Regions from separate parts of the Homo sapiens genome. Here regions 1 and 2 are each linked to region 3. Evidence: promoter capture Hi-C in 16 types of primary human blood cells and fetal thymus (Javierre and others, 2016). All regions are on one chromosome and are shown on one strand. Each heading gives the region's core, a stretch centred on a gene start or on the middle of the fragment in contact. The rest is flanking DNA. Distances are from core to core; before and after follow the strand shown.

Region 1 (2,967 bases), core at 224-2,723, 250 kb before region 3:
CTTAATTTTTTAAAAAACACTCATTTCCTACAAACCACAATATCACACATTATCTACTTCTTTTATCCTTATGTTTTCATTAAAAAGTACATTAAGCCTTGAAGTTTATCCCATACTTATCTACCTCCTCTTTTGGCCTTTTGGACCATGGAAAGAGTTAACGATGAACATCGTATGAGAAAAGAGGGTCACTATGTCACTAGTCATAAATAACAGCCAACCAGAATACCAAGTAAATAAGTCAAATGACCAATTTCAAATAGAGGCAGAAAATCAAAAGGGAACCTACTACATTTACAAAGTGCAAATAATAAAGGCTAATGGACTATTATATAACTATTTTTAAATGATAAAGCTAAATATTTGGAAGAAACAGTCTCTTTTTTTCATTCTAAGGAAACAATGTATTAAATGACAAGTCAATCTGAATCACTACTTCTATGCTTCATTAGGAGCCAGTTAATTTAATGTACAAGATATTTAAACAAAAATTCAATGTACAACATCAATTTTTGTTTATCCTGAGAGACCACATATGTATAAGGTACATAGTTTTTTGTTTAGATTTTAGCAGCATATAGTATGGAAGGTGCACCTAGTTTTTGGTGGATGGAATTTAGCAGCCTTGTCAGTGGGCAGAGTATTTAAAAGTATTCCTTAACTCGTTTCCTTGTAATGTTCCTTTCCTTTTATCAGGATCTTCTATTGAGACCACAGTGGATATTTTCCCAGTTGTTCTTGATTTTCATAACCCACTGTGGCATGGATTCTCTTCTTGCTCAAACTTGAGCCAGGATCCTTTGAGCCTTCCTCTTGACTAAGGCCCAACTTTGACCTATAAAGACTTGAACAAACACTAACATAGCTTCTAACAGCTCCAGCTTTCCTTAAAGTGCCTGCTGAGAAAACTCAAGATTTGCGAAAAATCTACTGTTTGTTCCAGTCAACACCTGAAGATAGGGCCTCTGTCCACCAGTCATTGTGGGAGGGTAGGGACCTAACTTCAGTAAGCACCAGTTAGAAAACCCAGATGAATTTCACGTGGACAACCTCCCTTTCCTGCTTTTTGTAAGTTTCTCCACTTCCCACATTCTACTGACCCCCTGCTCACTCACTCCCTATTTCCTTATTCTCCATTTAAATTACCCAGTCACCTCTGGACAAATCAAAGTTCAGTTCAATTCACACTGTACTGTTATTCCTATTGCAATAGTATATTACTGATTAAAATCTGTCTTTACCACTTTAACTAGTATTTAGCTTTGTTTATCTTTGACACATTTAGTAGTCACCAAAAAGGAATTGAGCAGAGCGGAGCCTGCAAGAGGCTTACAATCAAATCACAGGGCACACATACAGTAAATATAAACACCTACTACAGCATACAAACAAGAGGTAGGCAAGAGATTTTGAAAGTCTTTTGGAAAGGAGAAATTTTGAGAAAACAACAAGAGGGCACATACAGTTTAGAAAAGAGCAAAAGGTCACATCCAACTAGTCTCAGCCTTATCAGCAATGGAAACCAATGGTGTGCATAGGTATGGTTTGAGCAGCAGACAAGTTTAGTGAGAGTGACAGGGTGACAGCTATAAAGAAAAGAGGGAATAGTGGGAGCACACCCAAGGCTGTGAGAAAGTCTGTAACCCAGGGAATGCCAGAACATCCCTTAAGGATTGCCATCCTAAACTGCAACGGCCTCTTTCCCAACATGGCCATGAAAAGTCTTTGCCCAGTCCACTGGAGGATTATGTGCAAACTGGGAAAGGCCTTTCGGATTCAGGCAGAGACTTTTCAGAGTAAATTCTGAGAAGGGAGCCAGGGGATGAGGACAAGGGAGTTCAGGAAAAAATGAATTAGCAGATCTGGGCATTTCAAAGTGCAGCTTTTGTTTTGGGGTCCTAGAAATGTGTTAGGGATTCTTGTGACCTGATGGCATAGTTAGTACTCATCTTACTTGAAAACATTCCTAGCACTTTCACTAGTCCCCAAGTTCTTCCAATCAGTTTACTTCTGAATTATCTCTACAACCATCTCTTCATTTTCAGGGAGCTCTCTAATTTAGATCTTCACTAGCTCACTCTGTAACCATCAACTGCAGAAGTTTCCTAAGCATTTCACTCTTTCTAGCTGTCCTCCCACTCCATCCCAATATGTCATTCACCTTGCTGTCAGAATCATCTAAGACACAGATCTGATCTTGTCACATCCCTAATAAAACACCTTCAGTGTCTCCCTGTTACTCAGCTGATACAGTCCAAACCATCAGCACAGTTACACTCTGGCCCAACACCTCCTTGCCTCTCTGGCCAGCCCTCCTCATCCTTTCACATCCCCTATATCCCTCACCCCCTGTCTTCTAGGTGCAGGACAGTTGCCATTTTTCAAAAATGCCAAATATTTTCATTGGCCATGCCTTTACTTTCATAGTTCCCTCTGCCTTTAACGCCTTCATCCTCACACCCCTACCTCTAACCAGCACTATTTACAGACTCCTCGACACCAGCTTAAATGTCCCTTCCTCCATGAAACCATCTCAAGTCCTCCAGACAAAATGAGATTCCTCTGGTCTGTTCCCAAATCCCTTGGCTTTGCAATTCTCCCTTTATAGTAATTTTTATTGCTTCTGTCTTTATTTAACTTTGTAAATATATCCTTTGTTTAAATAGTATTTTACAAGATTATAAAATTTTTGAAGGTAGAAATAGAGTCACACACACAATTCGACACAGAGATATGTGGCCTCAAATTATCATTTTCTCAAGTGTCTTAATCTTCTCTTTCCATCTAGGTTGTCAATTTCTTGAGAAGTTAAATACTTTTATTCTTCCCTACCCTCGTTTCTGCAACCATCACTATTGTGCTGAGCCTAAATTGTCATAGCATCTATAAAAGGATGGATTAGATCACCTACTGGGTCCCATATCTAGGTCTACCATTTGGTAATTCTAACAGCAAACAGCTGGGACC
Region 2 (2,700 bases), core at 106-2,605, 230 kb before region 3:
TAACCAAAGGTCCCATGCTGACCTGACACAAAGGTACTTTTTGTCAAGTAAATGTGTAACAGAGAGAAACAAGACAAGTCCAGAGGTTACTAGAGCGCAAAGTGATTTGTTGTTCAAACATAAAACACACAAAATTTGCTAGCAAAATTAAAGTAAAAAACTAGGAATATACATATATAATGTTTATATATGTATAATAACTAAGATGTATCTATAAATTGTGTTTTACAAAGACAAGATGGCAATAAGACATTAACAGTGAGTGAGTTGTGATATGATGGGCTATTTTCTTCAAACTTGGTATTTTCAAATTTTCTACAAGCCGTATTACTTTCATAAAACAGAAACACAAAAAAATAGGTTTTTAAAAAAACTAACAGACTCTCAGTGCAAACATCTGGAATCAGAGCATACTTTAAGGTATACTTAAAATTGCTAGGTGTGGTGACCCGTGCCTGTAGTCCCAGCTACTCAGGAGGCTGTGGAATAAGAACCTCTTGAACCCAGGAGGCAGAGGTTGCAGTGAGCCAAGATCACGCCACTTCACTCCTGCCTGGGCGTCAGAGCAAAACTCTGTTTCCAAAAAAAAACCAAGGTACTTAAAATCAACACCCTCTGCTAAGGAGACCAGATAATAATTCTTAGCTGAGTCTACCTCTAGCATCCTGTCTGGAATGGGGCAAAGGCTAAGAGATGCTGAGACGTCTGCTTTGGCTGGTGGTTCCAATTGCCCTCCTAATCCTGAGACAAAAGGCAAGAGAGTACAAGGTGTTCCTGTTTGGTGGTCAGATGTCATTCCAATTGAAAATGATGATTTATCAACTCTATTAAGAGGACACAGAACTGAACCTCCTGATCTATCTCAATCTGCAGTCAATAATCAATGTGCCTTTGGAAACCTGCCTCACAATTATTCAATAAAACTTCACAAATAGTATGATAAAACTAAGTGTATTGTTTACAACAAAGCAAAAGAGCCAATATAATCATGCACAATACTCCTAACTTCTGATACTAGAAATTTTTGCCCAGCTGGAAGACAGGAAGCAACTACTTATGCAGAGAAAATGGGAAACTTAAAAAAATGAATGAGAAGTGAAGACACATAGATTGAAACATTTTCCTGGTCAGAAAAAACGGGCGAATATGATACTTGATGCTCAGGCCAAAGTGTTTGTCTCTTTTGAGGCAATGGTTGGAAATTTTAAGGAAAAATAAATTATGCTATACTGGACCTAACCAAACATGAATTTTCAGAGACATCTATGAATGCTGAAGAAGTTAAACATCAACCAGTTTGCAGTACAATCTGGCTATGATTTATCACTTAACTAAAAGAACTTACTACTGATGGTTTGGAAGAACAGTTATTATCAAATCAACTCAGGAAAGTAGTGCTGAAAAAATCATGAGTTTCACAATCTCACAAAGAGGTTTGTCCAGCTGCTTATGCTTACAAGGTCTACTGCAGTGCCACAGAAGTTGCTCTCATTAGCCAAGTTGCCTGGGAACTGACCAGCCCATCAAAATCCTAGGCTGTGGTATTTCAAAGTGTTCAGGCATAGAATCAACAGATTGTCAAAGTGTGTAGAGCTCAAGTCTATAATGATAATCTACAGTAAGTTAAAATATCCCAAATCATCTTTGCCTATCTCTTTTTCTTAGCTGTTTATAGGCATAGATTTTCACTTGCACATCTTGTACCAGCCCCTTAGAAGGAATTCACTAAGATTATCACAGTATATCCATTACATTTGGTTGCACACTGAGTCCACTTTTATTTGATTTCTCTGAATTTGATATTTTAATAGATTTTTTTAAAAAATATTTATTATATGTTTATTGATAATATTGCTTTTCAATTTTAAAAAATGTATTTTCTATCCTATCCTGTTCTAAGCATTACAGCTTGCCCCTAAATAACTATATTCTTTTCCTTCTTCAGGTCTCAATGGCTCTTATACCTCTCATAACATATCATACGGTATTTCACCTTTTGTTATTGTTCATGCTTATATTTACTTCCTTCATTATACCGAAGGCCATTTACAGCAGGATTTCTCTTCTCATACTTAAATCATTTCTACCACTTAGCAGGTGGTAAGGACACCAGAAATATGTGTTGAGTTGAATTGAATTACTTGATATAAATGATGTAAATTATCCTGTCCTGGATAGTTGGTACAAGATATCCAAATTGCATTTATAGTATCACTCACATCCATCAATCAAAAACCTCCTCATTGCCTTACATTTTTAATGGTTGATGTCATCGACAACCTCTCTATCATCAACAACTTCTCTATCACCTTCAAGAATTTTCTCCTCTAGCCCATCAGCCATCATGAACTCATGTCGTTTCTACTTCTGCAGTCTCTCATCTCTCCTGTCCTTCCTATTGTCTTGCTATAACTCCATTATCTCATAACACGCTTGTGTAAAACCCTCCTAATTTGTTTTGCCCTACCTGGTGCATCCTTCTCACCCCTGCCACAGTAACCTTCCTAAACACAGGTAAGTTCGTATTTGTTTTCTTTATCAAAAACCACAAAACACTCTCAGTTACCCAAAATCTAAATGGCTTCTTCCAAGACCCTCTACTGTGGTGTCAAGCTAACTCTCCAACCTCATCTCCAACTAAAGGCTCTATGAGCCCTACACTCTGGCCACGTGGTTCATTTACCAGCTCCGAACATTTTA
Region 3 (2,700 bases), core at 141-2,640:
GAAATCTATTAGGGGCCGCCGAATGCAACTATGAGGCTTTCCAAGCCTTTTGCCTTCTCGCCTTCTCATCTCTGCCTCCTAAGCCTCATCCTTGAAAGTCTGGACCTTCCTGACAGGTACTGATCCCTCGTCATGTTGTCCAGGATATTGTCACTCCCCGAAACACCCTCTTCCAGTCCTTCACGCCTTGATAAATATCTATTTGTCCTTCAAAAGGCTCATCGAGCATTATTTTGGTGGGTTTCCTTTGGTTCTCCTCCCTCCAGCTTAATAGCCTTCTCATTTATATTACTTTTATTCTATACATCAAATTAAATCGGCCTTATTTAGTAGCTTTAATCATCTTTTCTACTAGAATGAACTTCTTAATGGCTTTCATTCTCTCTTGTGTTGCCAAGGCCTGGCAGACTACCTAGAACAAAACATATGAACTGAACTGATTTAGGCTGTACTGCGGATGTCTCTAAAAGGAAGAATAGCACTGAGGGTATCTCTAGAAGAAATAATTGGTTTTTGTTTGTTCGTTTTTTTTTGTTGTTTTGTTTTGTTTTGTTTTTGTTTTTTTGAGATGGAGCCTCGCTCTGTCACCCAGGCTTGACTGCAGTGACGCAATCTCAGCTCACGCAACCTCCGCTTCCCGGGTTCAAGCAATTCTCTGCCTCAGTCTCCCAAATAGCTGGGATTACAGGCGCTCGCCACCACACCTGGCTAATTTTTGTATTTCTAGTAGAGACGGGGTTTCACCATCTTGGCCAGGCTGGTTTTGAACTCCCAACCTTGTGATCCGCCCACATCGGCCTCCCAAAGTGCTAGGATTACAGGTGTGAGCCACCACGCCCGGCCAAGAATTGTATATTTTTAGGGGATCAGAACACTTAGAATTAGTGGGACATTATTGCTAGGGTTAAGATAGCATTTCAGTATTTCTGGTATAGAGGATGTTGGCTATCCACTGTCTATTCCAGTAAATTTCCTCACCATAATATCTCTCTATCTCTGTCTGTCTGTCTTCTCTCTCTTGCACACATGAGAGAGAACTATTACCTGCCGGGTAAATAGTGGGAGAATTAGGACCTACTGTGAATCGTCTGCCTGGGGCCCAACCTGTAACATCACAAGAAGAAAAACATCTGTACTTCCTTATGAGGTTCTTTTCAATGTCCATTTTAGTTCAAATGTCCTCATAACATAAAGGGAGGGGGAAGTTCAGAGACACATCATAGAATATTCATCACATTGCTGGCATTCTGGGAAGAATCAGGCTGGTTAAGTGACTCCCAGGCTGCTCTTACCTATCCAGAGCCTAGAGCATCTAGATTTTGATTGGACCATTGCCAGAACTCATTAGCATAGTGTACCCTGACCTGGAATAGGGAACAGCGTCTGCTCAGAAAATGACCAGAGCCTGCTGGGACTTGAACCAGCAGTAAGATTTTCACGACACAGTGCTGTCTGCTTCTCCGTAAGAAGTTAGAAGGTAAGAAAGCCAGAAATCCCGTGGAGAGGCAAATGTAAGGGATGTGGCAACGACCACTCTATTCCTACAGGGTTTCATTTGTTCTAGTTCATTTTTCTGTAGAAATGATGAAAATTGAATATACTTTGCGCAAGTTGCTTTAAAAAAAGGAGTCTTGACAAGTGTAGTTTTTCAATCCTAGAAGAGGAAAACAGAGTTTACTTAAGGGCTGTAAAATGGTTTTTTCTTCTTTTCTATGTTTTGTTCTTAACTTTTAGGGAAATATTAAATTAATGCTCATTCGCTTAGCAAATGTTAATATCGAGAGAAAAATCTAAAATGTAACATAGTTGTTCTGTAATAAAATTTTCTTTATTATTCTTCCCTTAATTTAAAAACAAAATAATTATGTCTATATTGCCTAGGCTTTATAACAATGTTTTTGATTTTTGAAAATATGAATCTTATTTGCCAAGGTTTTTAAAAAGTAGATCTATTCCAATTAGTTATAACAAAATTTGCACCATCAGAGACAATATCGTTACTGTTCAGGGTAAGTACACGGAACTGCTGCTTGGTATCTGCATCTTCTATACCTGTTATTTAAGTCCTTTGAATTAGAGTCAATTTGCGGCATCATTTCTTCAGTAACACAATGTTTCTTTCCTAAACATAGAATTTTACTTAAAATCCATGAGGATTTAGTCTTGAAAATCAACATTCAGTTGGGGAACAGAAACTTCGTGCTCTGCAACCACTAGGTTGTAGCTCAGTATGGGTATGTGGAACAGACAGGAAGAGACTCTGATTAGCTTGTCATTTAATGGTCAAGAACTTTATTTATAAAGACTATACTTTCAGGGATCATTTCTATAGTTTGTTACTAGAGAAATTTCTCTGGACATCTAGAGCACACACAAAAAAGAAAAAAGGAACTTCATTCTTATGTTCAGGTCAACGGTCTTTTATATACATACACTTTCCCTTGGTAGAGTTCAGTGATTGACAAGTATTAGGATTATATAACACTAAATAACTAAAGAACAGGCCGGGCACAGTGGCTCATGCCTGTAATCCCAGCACTTTGGGAGACAGAGACGTATGGATCACCTGAGGAAAGGAGTTCAAGACCGGCCTGGTCAACATGGTGAAACCCCATCTCTACTGAAAATACAAAAATTAGCTGGGTGTGGTGGTGCGTGCCTGTAATCCCAGCTACTTGGGAGGCTGAGGTAAAAGAATCA

What was found. The method cuts DNA at HindIII sites, captures the fragments that hold promoters and counts their contacts. A CHiCAGO score of 5 or more calls a contact.
Region 1: a fragment that was not itself captured here is called in contact with the fragment with the promoter of GCM1 in region 3 in 1 of 17 cell types (neutrophils); the score reaches 6.0 in neutrophils.
Region 2: a fragment that was not itself captured here is called in contact with the fragment with the promoter of GCM1 in region 3 in 1 of 17 cell types (neutrophils); the score reaches 5.5 in neutrophils.

What each region holds. Positions count from the first base shown.
Region 1 is chr6:53,395,367-53,398,333 of GRCh38, reverse strand. No RefSeq gene overlaps it. Among named protein-coding and RNA genes, the nearest start is that of GCLC-AS1, 35 kb to the left of the region's middle. The HindIII fragment of the contact is 5,160 bases long and covers 1-2,967 here.
Region 2 is chr6:53,374,822-53,377,521 of GRCh38, reverse strand. No RefSeq gene overlaps it. Among named protein-coding and RNA genes, the nearest start is that of ELOVL5, 27 kb to the right of the region's middle. The HindIII fragment of the contact is 7,566 bases long and covers 1-2,700 here.
Region 3 is chr6:53,147,531-53,150,230 of GRCh38, reverse strand. GCM1 (glial cells missing transcription factor 1) reads left to right here and starts at 1,390. Exons shown (of 6, transcript NM_003643.4): 1 at 1,390-1,477. It also overlaps the pseudogene LOC124901513. The HindIII fragment of the contact is 12,096 bases long and covers 1-2,700 here.